4 separate regions of the Homo sapiens genome follow, and all the other regions are linked to region 4. Evidence: promoter capture Hi-C in 16 types of primary human blood cells and fetal thymus (Javierre and others, 2016). All regions are on one chromosome and are shown on one strand. The core of a region is centred on a gene start or on the middle of the fragment in contact, and the rest is flanking DNA. Distances in the headings are between cores, read along the strand shown.

Region 1 (3,006 bases), core at 456-2,955, 190 kb after region 4:
CAATTTTATTATTAAACTGGGATATCTAAAGATTGAGTGCTAAGTCATTTTCAATAAATGTTCTCATGCACCAACACTCAAATGTATTAGGACACATTTACTGATATAATGTATAAGTTTCACTTTAAAATACTCCAACAAAAACAAAAACAAAACAAAAAAGGTGGGAGGGAAATGTATAAAAAAAATCGTGAAAAATTGATAAATGTAGACGCGGGTGATAGGCACACAGGAATTCATATCATTCTCTCTACTGTCATGTATGGCTGAAAATTTCAAAAATCCTTTTAAGGAACTCTCTGATACTTCAAAACAAAGGTGGGGGGGGGGTTCAGACTACATAGCTGTTCAACAGTTTTGTGAACAGATTTTTAAAAATTCATATTTTTGCAAAATGGATCTGGTGAACAAATGCTTCCCTCTGCTCTGATGACCATGACTCTAGTAATGATTGGCAAAAATAATGTCTATAATGAATCTTAAACATGGCCATCTAGCATGAGGTAAGACAAAAAGGTCTACACAAATATCACTGGATCTTGATAATAACAACTATAGCCTTTGATAGTTTCCATCTGAAAAGAAAACTAGGAATTGAGTGACAAAGCATTCAACAAGCAACTAGAGTACAAGCTTGGTCATTAGTACTAAAAACTGTGAGATAATAATAAGTCTGCTTCTTTAGTCCTTTAAATACATCTACTTGTTCAATTTCCACACTGTACAAAGGGGGAAAATAACATATGCAGGAGCTTTATAGATAATTAGAAAAAAACAAGTCTTATGTGGATACAATTTGTTTTGTTAAAAATCCATTATCACAAAGTCACAATACATGGCTGTTCCCTCTGAATCAACTGTGAACCTGCTGTATAATAAAACTTTTCCTCACTAAGCTTCTAGGTATATGCTCTCATGTGCAATGTTTTAAAACTATTTTTTAAAATGTGATTATTTTTTGCAAAAGCCTATTTATAGTAAATATGTGCTCTATGCAAAATGTTCACTTAGCTAAATTGGTACTTTAACTGAATATAAACTTAAGTTTTAGTCATTTTGTTATACTCTCCATGGTTAGTAGTGATCTTTGTCACAAATGCTATTTCTCTGACTGCTAACATTACAGCAAGAAAATAATTATTTGCAGTAGTGAAACTGATTTTGATTTCTTCACTGCACTTCTTATCTATGCTTCCTTCCTATAACTACATCTGACACTCAAGCAAAGATTCTAGATATACTTTGGAGCTAGCAGGAAATCTTACAAAAATGACACTTTACAAGATTGAGAGAATAAACATTGGTAAGCATAAAATATTTGACACAGCAAAGACTAGTTTGACATATGTACTTCCTACTTCACTACATTAAAATTAGTGTTCGAGATTCAAAAATCTGGCTGACAAAATGATCAGACTCCCTTTCCAAAAATACACACAGAAAAGACTGAAGACAAGTATTTTGAGTCAATGATTACAGACAGAGGATCCTTATCCAAATAAGTCACATGTCTCTACCTATTTTATCCTAAGAAACTGACAGAGCTCAAATTTTAGGTCTTAGGTATCTTGAACCCTAATAATTTTAATGAAAAGCTATTATGCTAGATTGCTGGGTTTAAATCTCATTATTACTATATAAAAATCTTGTTAAAATACTTTTAGTTATGTGCTTACTTAGCTGAGTTAACTTTAAGTTATCTCAAAAACATCTTTGTATCGAATCCTGTAAGTATTGCTAAAGAGACATTCTGTTAGCTCTGGCTTTATAAGTGAAAGATCTAAAGATGAGAAGGGAGGAGCAATTTATTGTATTTGAGTACATGGAAAAGCACTCCTTTGTGACTGCAGATGTCACTTGCTGAATCAGGGACATATTTCTTTCACACTTCTATTTTTGCCCACTGATGTAGAAGATGCTATCTTAACAGAAAAAATACTAATAGATGCAAATTGACACCCATCCTTTGATTAAAAGTAAGTTGGTAGCTTTCCCGGAGACTTTAAAAACAAAGACTATTAATCCCAAATTATTCTGGGCTCTGCACCAGTGACAAATATACTTTAGAAGGTCTTCTAACTAATAAAAATATTTAGGATTATGTGGGCAGAAAAAAAATTGTTCTTAAATCTGGATAGAATTACTGTGAATATCTTTAAATAATATTTTTAAATATTTTCAAGGTTTTTAATACTGGTATTAAATTATAAGATTTACACAACTACCTATTTATTTTGAAAAATCATAAAATATAATTTTTTTTAGAAATTGTTTCCGCTGGGAGCTCATCAATATACCAGAAACACATTTAATTCCAGTGTCTCGTTCCTCCAAAACTGTAACTCTAGATCAAAAGTAATATATCACGAAGTGTTTAGATGACCGCAATGAAAAAAGGACTGAAAATTAATTTCCTTCTAGCAATAATTTGTCAGAAAACATTTTCCTCATTAAGTAATTGAATGTTAAATGTATATGTCAGAAACATTTTAAATATTTTACTAAGAAGCTTGGACATGAACACCCTAGCACTAAATATTAATATTATAAACGATGAATTTTAGGTGTAATCATTACATAAACATGTTTCTACAAAGACAATGGGAATCAGGACTTCTGTAAAATAAAATGAAACAATGTATTATAATTCCTTTACATTTCTTTCATAGAGTTAAGAAATTAAAATGAGAGCACATCTAGTCCCATTTTATCGTAAAAAACAATGACTAACTCATAAATGTACTAGAAATTCTAGTAGAAATAGCTTTCATAAGACTAGAAATTCTAGTAGAAATAGCTCACCATAATTTTACTATCAACAATAAAATTTTGAGAATTCTTCTAAAACAATCTCTTCTTTGGGACAGTGGTTCTCATATTTGTTTGGATGGCAATGAATAAGCAATTGAGGGTACTCTCTATGGAACCCCCAAAATGATCATGTTGTACTTAATGGTATCATAAGAACTAGAAAAAGCTTGACTAGATATCTATCTATATATATGT
Region 2 (2,765 bases), core at 87-2,586, 220 kb after region 4:
TTACAGGCGAGAGCCACCGCGCTTGGCCATTCTTTTTTTTTTAATAGGTGGTTTTTAGTATATACACAGAACTCTGTAACCTTCATCACGATCTAAGTTTTAAAATATTTCATCACCCTGAAAAGAAATCCCATATCATTAGCAGTCACTCCTCGTACCCTACCCTCTGGGGACCTAGTCAACCACTAATGTACCTTCTATCTCTATAGATTTGCCTATTCTGGACATTTCATATAAATGAAATCATATAATTCGTGGTCTTTTGTGACTGTCTCCTCACACTTAGCATAATATTTTCAAGGTTCACCCATGTTGTAGTATGTATCATTTCTTTTTATAGCTGAATAATATTCTATTGCATGAATATATCACATTTTATTCATCTATTCATCAGTCGATGGCTATCTAGGTTGTTCCCACTCTTTGGCCATTATAAATAATGCTGCTATGAACAGTCATACACAAGATTTTATGTGTACACACATTTCTTAGCTTTTTTTTTTTTTTTTTTTTGAGATGGAGTCTCACTCTGTCGCCCAGGCTGGAGTGCAGTGGCGCAATCTCAGCTCACTGCAAGCTCCGCCTCCCGGGTTCATGCCGTTCTCCTGCCTCAGCCTCCCGAGCAGCTGGGACTACAGGCACCTGCCATCACGCCCGGCTAATTTTTTGTATTTTTAGTAGAGACGGGGTTTCACCGTGTTAGCCAGGATGGTCTCAATCTCCTGACCTCGTGATCCGCCCGCCTCGGCCTCCCAAAGCGCTGGGATTACAGGCGTGAGCCACCGCGCCCAGCCCATTTCTTAGCTTTTTAAAAGATTTGTTTTGTCTCTATTAGCAGTGTGCATAAAAGAGATACCATAGCAGGCTGAGACTGCTATCCTTAGAAAGGCCTGTTACAAGTTTGGCCCCTGGCTTGTGCTTGCAACCTTGGATTTTCGGTGTGTTCCCACCATTCCCTATCTGATAAGGGTCATGTACTATGCCTAAACTGTCTGTACAAACAATGTGGTTTATGCTGAAAACTTGCCTTTCTTCTGGAGGGCTGCAATTTGGCTAGGCCAATGTGCCTATGTAACTGGCTCCCATAAAAACCCTGCATTCCTAGGCTCAGATGAGTTTCTCTGGCAGAAAACGTTCATCGCTGGAGACATTAAGCACATCCTGTGCAAGCTCTATGGGGAGAGGCCTCTTGGAAGCTTGTACCTACTTTCCTCCAGACTTCACCCGACACACCTTTTCCCTTTGCTGATTTTGCTCTATATCCTTTCAATGCGATAAGTTGTAGCTGTGAGTATGACTATATGCTGAGTCCTATGAAACCTTCTAGTGAATTACCAAACTTGGGGGTGTCTTTGAGGATCCCTCAATACAAGCAGATTATAAACTCCTTGAGGTCAAGGATGATACCCAATAATAAAATGTCACATGTCTGGAAAGTATACCTTCACCCTGAATAGATGAGGAAACCAAAGCTTATAAACCCTGAGAACAGAGGACATGAGGCCCATCCAGTACTCTGGGCTCCACATCCTGACACGTCTCCCCACGGCACCAGCAGAATGCCCATAAAGCACATGATTGATCCAAGCCCCCAGAGCTGGCCCACCATGAATGAATGCAATTGAAACTTCATTGAGTAGAATAAATGTTCCTAAACAATAAAGGAGTTTCTAAAATTGGGTGGGGCGGGGGAGTTCATACACACATGGAGGCTGAGAAAATAGGCAATAAATACTAGGAATGTTACACACAGTAGTTGAAGGATTATTTTGGAAAGATAATCTTTCCAAATTGTAAAAGCAATTATATATTGTTCAGCGTCATTCTGGGTTGGATCATTTGGTTGTCATTTCTGTCCTTTATTAATCTAATTCATAATCCCAGGCTGCAGGTAATGCAGGCCAATTGCAGTGAAATCAGAAGTGTCTTTCCGTTGTATTGGCCTTAATATTTGCTGAGGCTCTGTCACGGTCCAATCTCTGCTGGGTCCCTTTTGCATGTATTAGTGACAAAGGCTATTCATTACTTAATAGCTAGTGGCATAGGCCTTGGAATCAGCCTGGGTTCAAGCTCTAGCTTTGCCGCTTAACAGCTGGTGTTTTTGTTGTTGTTGTTGTTGTTGTTGTTTGTTTTGTTTTGTTTTGTTTTTGAGACAGAGTCTCACTCTGTCCCCAAGCTGGAGTGCAGTGATGTGATCTTGGCTCACTGCAGCCTCTGCTTCCCGGGTTCATGCAATTCTCCTGCCTCAGCCTCCCGAGTAGCTGGGATTACAGGCATACACCACTGTGCCAGTTAATTTTTGTATTTTTAGTACAGACAGGGTTTTGCCACGTTTCCCAGGCTGGTTTCAAACTCCCAGCCTCAAGTGATCTTCCCACCTCGGCCTCCCAAAGTGCTAGAATTACAGGCGTGAGCCACCGTGCCCAGCCAACAGCTGGTGGTCTTAATATCACAGTACCTGTTTCCACGCAAATGCACATAAAAGCCCTCAGAATACTGCCTGGCTCATTTAGTGTTAGCTATTTTTTTAAAAATCTGGTTAAATCATTATTATAACCCAGTGAGTCAGTAGTAACGCCTTTATCTTTAACAATGAGGAAATATCTTATGTATATTTTCTTTCCTAAAAGGTATAAATGTTGATCTTGCTAATGAGAGCAAAAATCCTATTTGATAACCTTTCTCAGAACCCACATGTGTCAGTGTTTTAAAAAACAAGTTGGGCCTGATCCCTCATGCCTGTAGTCCCAGCTGCTCAGGAGGTT
Region 3 (2,982 bases), core at 472-2,971, 240 kb after region 4:
CTGGACTGCCGGCACACCTCTGGGGAGTGAGAGAAAAATCAACTTCTGTCATGTTGGAGCCACTGTAATTTTGTTACAGCAGCTTAGCCAGCATTTTGCCTAATGTAAGATTCTTTTAGTCAATCTTGTCAATGGATATTTACTGATTATCTAATGCAAGCCAGATACTGTGCTAGGCACAATAGATTTTTCCAAGGTGAATCAGGGACACCAGCTAAATTCACTCTCATCTTGAAGGCAAGTCATAAATACTTGGGAAGCTAAATAAAGTTAAGCAACATTATAAAACATCCCCCAAACTTTCACAGGGTGGCACATGCTGAAGGCCAAATGAGCATACAGAAATAGAAGGAAACTCAGAGAAAAACAAGTCCATGCCTTTCCTTCTCTGACAGCTGGAACCATGTCATCCAAGTGCTGAGATAATGTGACAAGACCTAGGCTCCTAGAGCAACCGGACCACAAAAATTCAGGGCAAAGGGGAAGGGGAAAGCATAGGGAAGGAGGGAAAGGGGACATAAAGAAACGGAGCTGGCATGGAAAGATCCTTGGCCAGAGACCTGCCTGCCACGTTCAGGTTTGCCTTTGATGAAGTCTCTTCATATATCTTGGCCTCCATTTCCCTATCTGTAAGATGGGAACTGTTTCATTACATTCGCTTTGCTCCAAGGAACAAACTGACTCATGGCGAGTAAAGATGGTGAATATTGTAATATTGTAAGGCTATAAATCATGTATAAGAGAGACAGAATCTCAGAGAAATCTCAAAACAGGATCTGCTGTAGGATGGGGCCTTAGGGAGACTGGAACTGTATTTAGGTCAGATTTAGAGTCCTCAGGATCAGGGATCCATGCATCTTCACTTCAGAGCTATATTTTTAGTTATACCTTCATTAAGACTCTGTTTCACGTGTTTGAAGCCCCAAACTCAAAATGTTTTGAGGAAAAAAAAAAAGGAAATGTCCTGGCTCATGCAACTAAAGAATCAGTGTATATAATAGTCTTGGCATGACCAGAATCAGCCAGTCAGCCAATGGGGCCAGGACCCAGTCCCTCTGCCAACCATGGCTCTATTTCCCTTCACGTCGGCCTTACTCTCAGACCCTGCAAGATGACCCAAAGGCTGTGCTCTTGCTCATACTCTTCATTGTCTAAATTCAACCAGAAGCTAGAGGGAACTTATATTGTGCAGACCAGTTTTCTTCAGGGCATACAATAAGGTAGATAAATGAGGAGAATGGATGATTGAAGCTATCAAGTACATCCCCCTAGATTCAAGTCCAGTAGAAAGAGCATAACTGTAAGCAGAAGTCCCCAGCTGTATCTCCTTAGTTCTGATTAAACCTTATGATTGTCACTGTGGCTCTGGGAATGAAGCCGGGTGGGGCTATCTCTTCCCACATGTCTGGGAGTAGGGGAGGAAGTAAGGTCCCCAAGGAAAGTAGAGGTCACTATTATAGAAAGAAAACAGAACGGATGTTAAATAGCATCTAAAGTGGCTATACTTGTTCCCCATTTATCTCATTTATTTGTAAATATGAATGCTAGATAATTTTTTTTTTTTTTTAACAAATGAGAGCTTTAAATAACTGTAGCATGACTAAGATATCTGGTTGGGCACATAAGAGGTTGGATTTGGTAAAGGTAGGTGTCTGAAAGAAAGTATTGTAATTTTCTGCTCTCACATAACAAATACAACCATGAATTGCATTCAACAGTTTAGGTAGTTGATTTAGTGTATCTATCGTGTTCTTGATAGCTAATTGTTTTTATAGATGGAGAAACTGAGTCACACGTTTATTAAATATATCATCTAAGATCTTGGGATTCAACTTTGGTGCCAGGACAAGAACCTGGATATCCAGATCAATGACAAAATCATGAGTAATACCTGTGTAATTCTAGAATGTTTTCAGGAAAGCATAATTCTTCTTGTTTTTAGCTGATAGCACTGTATTTGTTAAATTCTTCAGGTTCCCTAGCACTCATGGGTATGTCCTCTTACTGATATATACCAAAGGAATAACCTATGTAAAAGCACTGTGGTAGGTAGAAGTATGGCTGGTTTTGAAGGGCCAAAAACCAATATGCTTGAAATGGAGAGATGGAAGCATGGGGCAGGGGCAGGGCAGGGGAGGGGAGACTAGAGAGGCAGGTAGGGACCAGCCTGTGAAGGACATCATAAGATACATTATCATTTATAATTATTGTTAAATTTTAGGTTTTAAAATTTAGCAAACTTGATTTTATTAGATTTATTTTTTATGGTTTTCTTCTATTCAAGGTAGTGAAATATTACCTTAATTACCATTAATACATTTATTAGTACCTGTTACTAGTAGTACATTTAACAAAGTTTAAAAAAAAAGAGGACGTTTTCATAAAATATTAAGTACAGCTGAGTGTATTGTAAACATAGGATATGGTAAACTCATGAAAATAGTATCTGAAGGAGTAAAGTTTGGGAAACACTGGTATGTTGGGCATTTTTCTTTTTTCTTTCTTTTGTGAGATATGATCTTGCTCTGTCGCCCAGGCTGTAGGGCAGTGGCATGATCTCAGCTCATTGCAACCTCTGCCTCCCGGGTTCAAGCTCCCACAGCCTCCCGTGTGGCTGAGACTACAGACACGCATCTTTTTTTTTTTTTTCTCCAGAAACAGGGTTTTGTCATGTTGCCCAGGCTGGTCTTGAACTCCTGAGCTCGAGTAATTATCTGTGTCAGCCTCCCAAGTACTGGGATTACAGGCACATTTTTCATTTGCCCCTCCAGATCCACTTTCCACTCTCTGTATCCTTTTCTGTGACTCCACAGCTGACCTCTAAGGCCTGCATCACCCAGTCTACCTTGTCCTCCTTGACCTATCACCTACCTTGGTGATAAGAGTCACCAGTAGGAAATTGAAGCAGAGGAGGAGTATGGGGTTAGGGGCTTTATTCCCCTGAATTCCTGCTATGAGATTGCTATTCCTCGACCCAAGAGC
Region 4 (2,722 bases), core at 102-2,601:
GCCCGTTTCATCAATAACCAGATGACAAAAAGAAGCTAATATTCCCTCCCTAGTGGAGGATGAACTAAGAAAAGAGGTAGAAATGTAATTTTGTAAGGGTAAAGGGGGAATGGAAATAGCCCTGGAGTCATGAGCTCCCCTCCCTCTTTGGATTCCACATCACAGCTGTGGGTGCCCGCATCCCCATCACCACTGTAGAAAGATTCTTTAATTTTCCGCCCCATTTCCTTTGTCATTCAACAATGCACACTGCCTTTTTCCCCCATAGACAAGCTGTGGCCACAAAGCTGATGCCCTGGCACCTGCGAGCGCTTGAGGCCAAATTGGTTGAGTCCCAGCGCTCCACAACCCACCTCCTCCCGCCAGGTAGCAAAGACAAGGTTAAGAATCACGATCAAAATAACCACAAAAAAACCTACAACGATAATAAACTAAATTTAAGACACAGAGTAGTAACTAGATTTGTTATCTTACACAACTCGTATTCACTTCCAGATTCCCAGACATGGAAAAGAATATGCAAAGCTTTTTGTTCTTTTGTTTAGGTCTTCTTCTTCTTCTTCTTCTTCTTCTTCTTCTTCTTCTTCTTCTTCTTCTTCTTCTTCTTCTTCTTCTTCTTCTTCCTCTTCTTCTTTTTTGCGTAACTATTCACAGGAGTCTAATATCCTTCACAACTCTAAGCTTGCTTGAGTACCAAAACTCATGACTAATTTTTATTCGCTTTTTCCCAATTCACTTTCAAATGAAAAGAACTGCCAGCGGTGGTTTTTCTATCCACTTTCTCCCCTCGTGTTATCTTTCACGGCTTCCTAAACATTAGCACCAATAATTATTATTACACTGTAAGAATAATCCTATTATCTTCGCCTCCACCGCACTCCTCTCGTCTAACCCCCTTTCACAAACACGCAGAATAGAACTCCTCGATTTGCACAAATCTAGGTACCTCGGCTTCAGCCAGCATTTGTCTCAGTAGCCTCTAGGACCCAGAGCAACTCGCCTCTGTACCGGCATCTGGCTTTTCAGCACCGAGGACAGTGCCCGGGATCGGGTCTTTAGGAGCCACAGCCAACCTCTCAGCTCTACAGCCTAGGAAACCTCTTTGCGACCTCAGGTGACGCTCACAAGTACAAATACCTAGGGCTGCGAGAATTGTTCTCCTCGTCGCCCCCTTTCCCCCCACCCAATGCACAGACATCTCCAAAAGAAATAGCCAAAACGAATCTGCTTTCCCTGTCCCCTCAGCCCCCTTTCCTCTTGAAAGAACAAAAGCAAACACTCACCATGTCTGACACAGGCAACAGACTGAACTGGTGGAGGGTGAAACCCGCTATTGACAAGACTGGGTTTGGCTCAGGCAGGAGAGGCGCTTTCTATATCTCCTTGGGAAAGGCCGGGTTTGCGTCAGTGCAAAGCAAGGTGCCCTTGGTTTGACATTTTCTTGATAATACAAGTTTGATAAATCATTACCCCCTTGGATTCAAGTTTTAAAGGGACAACAGCCTAGAGTATGCTGGCCAGTTGTCACTCCAGCGGGAGGGGGCTGCGTGTTTGGCGTGACTCATGTGGTCTGATTACTAAACCGAAACCGGCAGGAGGGGAAGACAGAAGTTTGCCTCCTCCTAATTAAGGGAAACATGGGAGGGACACGTCCCACTGCACCCAAGGCAAGGCGCAGCCGCCAACAGAGTGGATCGGGCTGTAGAGGAGGAAGGAGGGGGTTAAATCACTGTCTATTCTTTCCCTTTCACTAGATTCCATTGCTGTCCCCCCTTATCTTCAGGGATTCCGAAAATATTACTCCGAAAGAGGTTGAGGGTCTGCGCATAGCCCCACAGCTCTGCGATGACTGAAGCAGGCATGGGTCCTGCATTTATCAAGGTGTACCTACCTAGCATGTATGTGGACTTCAGATTCTCACATCCCTACCCTTCCAGACAGTCAGTCTTGGAGGAATCCTGGGGTTTTTGCTTAAAAATTGTGATCTGGTATTTCCGTTCCTATTTCTGTTATCACAATCAAGAGAAAATTCTGAGTATAACTGACCTTTTTCATTGTATTTTTAAGCTTTTCTGAAGACGTTTTAGAGAAAGAAAAACGAAGTTTTTCCAACACAGACCTAGTTCTTAGGTCACTTTCAAAGTCAAGGGAAACCCATTCTTTCTTTACAGTCCTTTCAATAAAATCCTACAAGAGCCAGGCCTGATTTGGCAGCGCGGGACCTTAGAGACCGTCCAAATCGGGATGCCCAGCAATGCGGGGGAGGGGGAATGAGAGCTGGCAATCTGCAAAGCCATGCCAGGATGTTCAACCGTACTGTGGCGGGGATGGGAGTGGGGGTGGCCATGGCGATAAAAAGATGGACTTTCTTGTTGTGTGTACAATGCAATAGCTATAATCAGAAGAGGAAAAAACGCCTTTACAAAGAAGGTGTAGTTTGGAGACTAGAAGGGGATTATCAGCAAAATGCTTCCCTTCTCTCCTTCCTTGCCGGTCTAGCTCGGGGAACCCCTGGCCTCGGGGATGAGGAGCCACAGACAGCACGTTTTCCCTTCCCTACTGCCAACAGCCCAGCCCACTGCCTCGGGGTGCGCGCCGTCGCCAGCGGCTGGGCCGTCCCACGCGGCGGGAGGACAATGCCGCGGCGGCCGCGGCCGCAGGCGTAGGCTGCAGTGGCAGATTGCGGCGGGCGCCGGGGGCACTAAGGGGCACCCTCCTGCTC

Evidence for each region. Contacts are between HindIII fragments. The CHiCAGO score rates a contact against its expected background, and 5 or more counts as called.
Region 1: a contact is called between a fragment that was not itself captured here and the fragment with the promoter of SLC6A5 in region 4, in 1 of 17 cell types (erythroblasts). The highest score is 5.6, in erythroblasts.
Region 2: a fragment that was not itself captured here is called in contact with the fragment with the promoter of SLC6A5 in region 4 in 1 of 17 cell types (erythroblasts); the score reaches 5.7 in erythroblasts.
Region 3: a contact is called between a fragment that was not itself captured here and the fragment with the promoter of SLC6A5 in region 4, in 1 of 17 cell types (erythroblasts). The highest score is 7.1, in erythroblasts.

The regions. Positions count from the first base shown.
Region 1 is chr11:20,409,722-20,412,727 of GRCh38, reverse strand. The region is part of intron 9 of PRMT3 (protein arginine methyltransferase 3); the gene reads right to left. Among named protein-coding and RNA genes, the nearest start is that of PRMT3, 24 kb to the right of the region's middle. The HindIII fragment of the contact is 1,613 bases long and covers 899-2,511 here.
Region 2 is chr11:20,378,420-20,381,184 of GRCh38, reverse strand. The region is part of intron 3 of HTATIP2 (HIV-1 Tat interactive protein 2); the gene reads right to left. Among named protein-coding and RNA genes, the nearest start is that of PRMT3, 7.9 kb to the left of the region's middle. The HindIII fragment of the contact is 276 bases long and covers 1,199-1,474 here.
Region 3 is chr11:20,357,719-20,360,700 of GRCh38, reverse strand. No RefSeq gene overlaps it. Among named protein-coding and RNA genes, the nearest start is that of HTATIP2, 4.5 kb to the left of the region's middle. The HindIII fragment of the contact is 7,195 bases long and covers 1-2,982 here.
Region 4 is chr11:20,598,237-20,600,958 of GRCh38, reverse strand. It overlaps SLC6A5 (solute carrier family 6 member 5), which reads right to left and starts at 1,351. Exons shown (of 16, transcript NM_004211.5): 1 at 1,284-1,351. The coding sequence starts at 1,286. The HindIII fragment of the contact is 1,386 bases long and covers 684-2,069 here.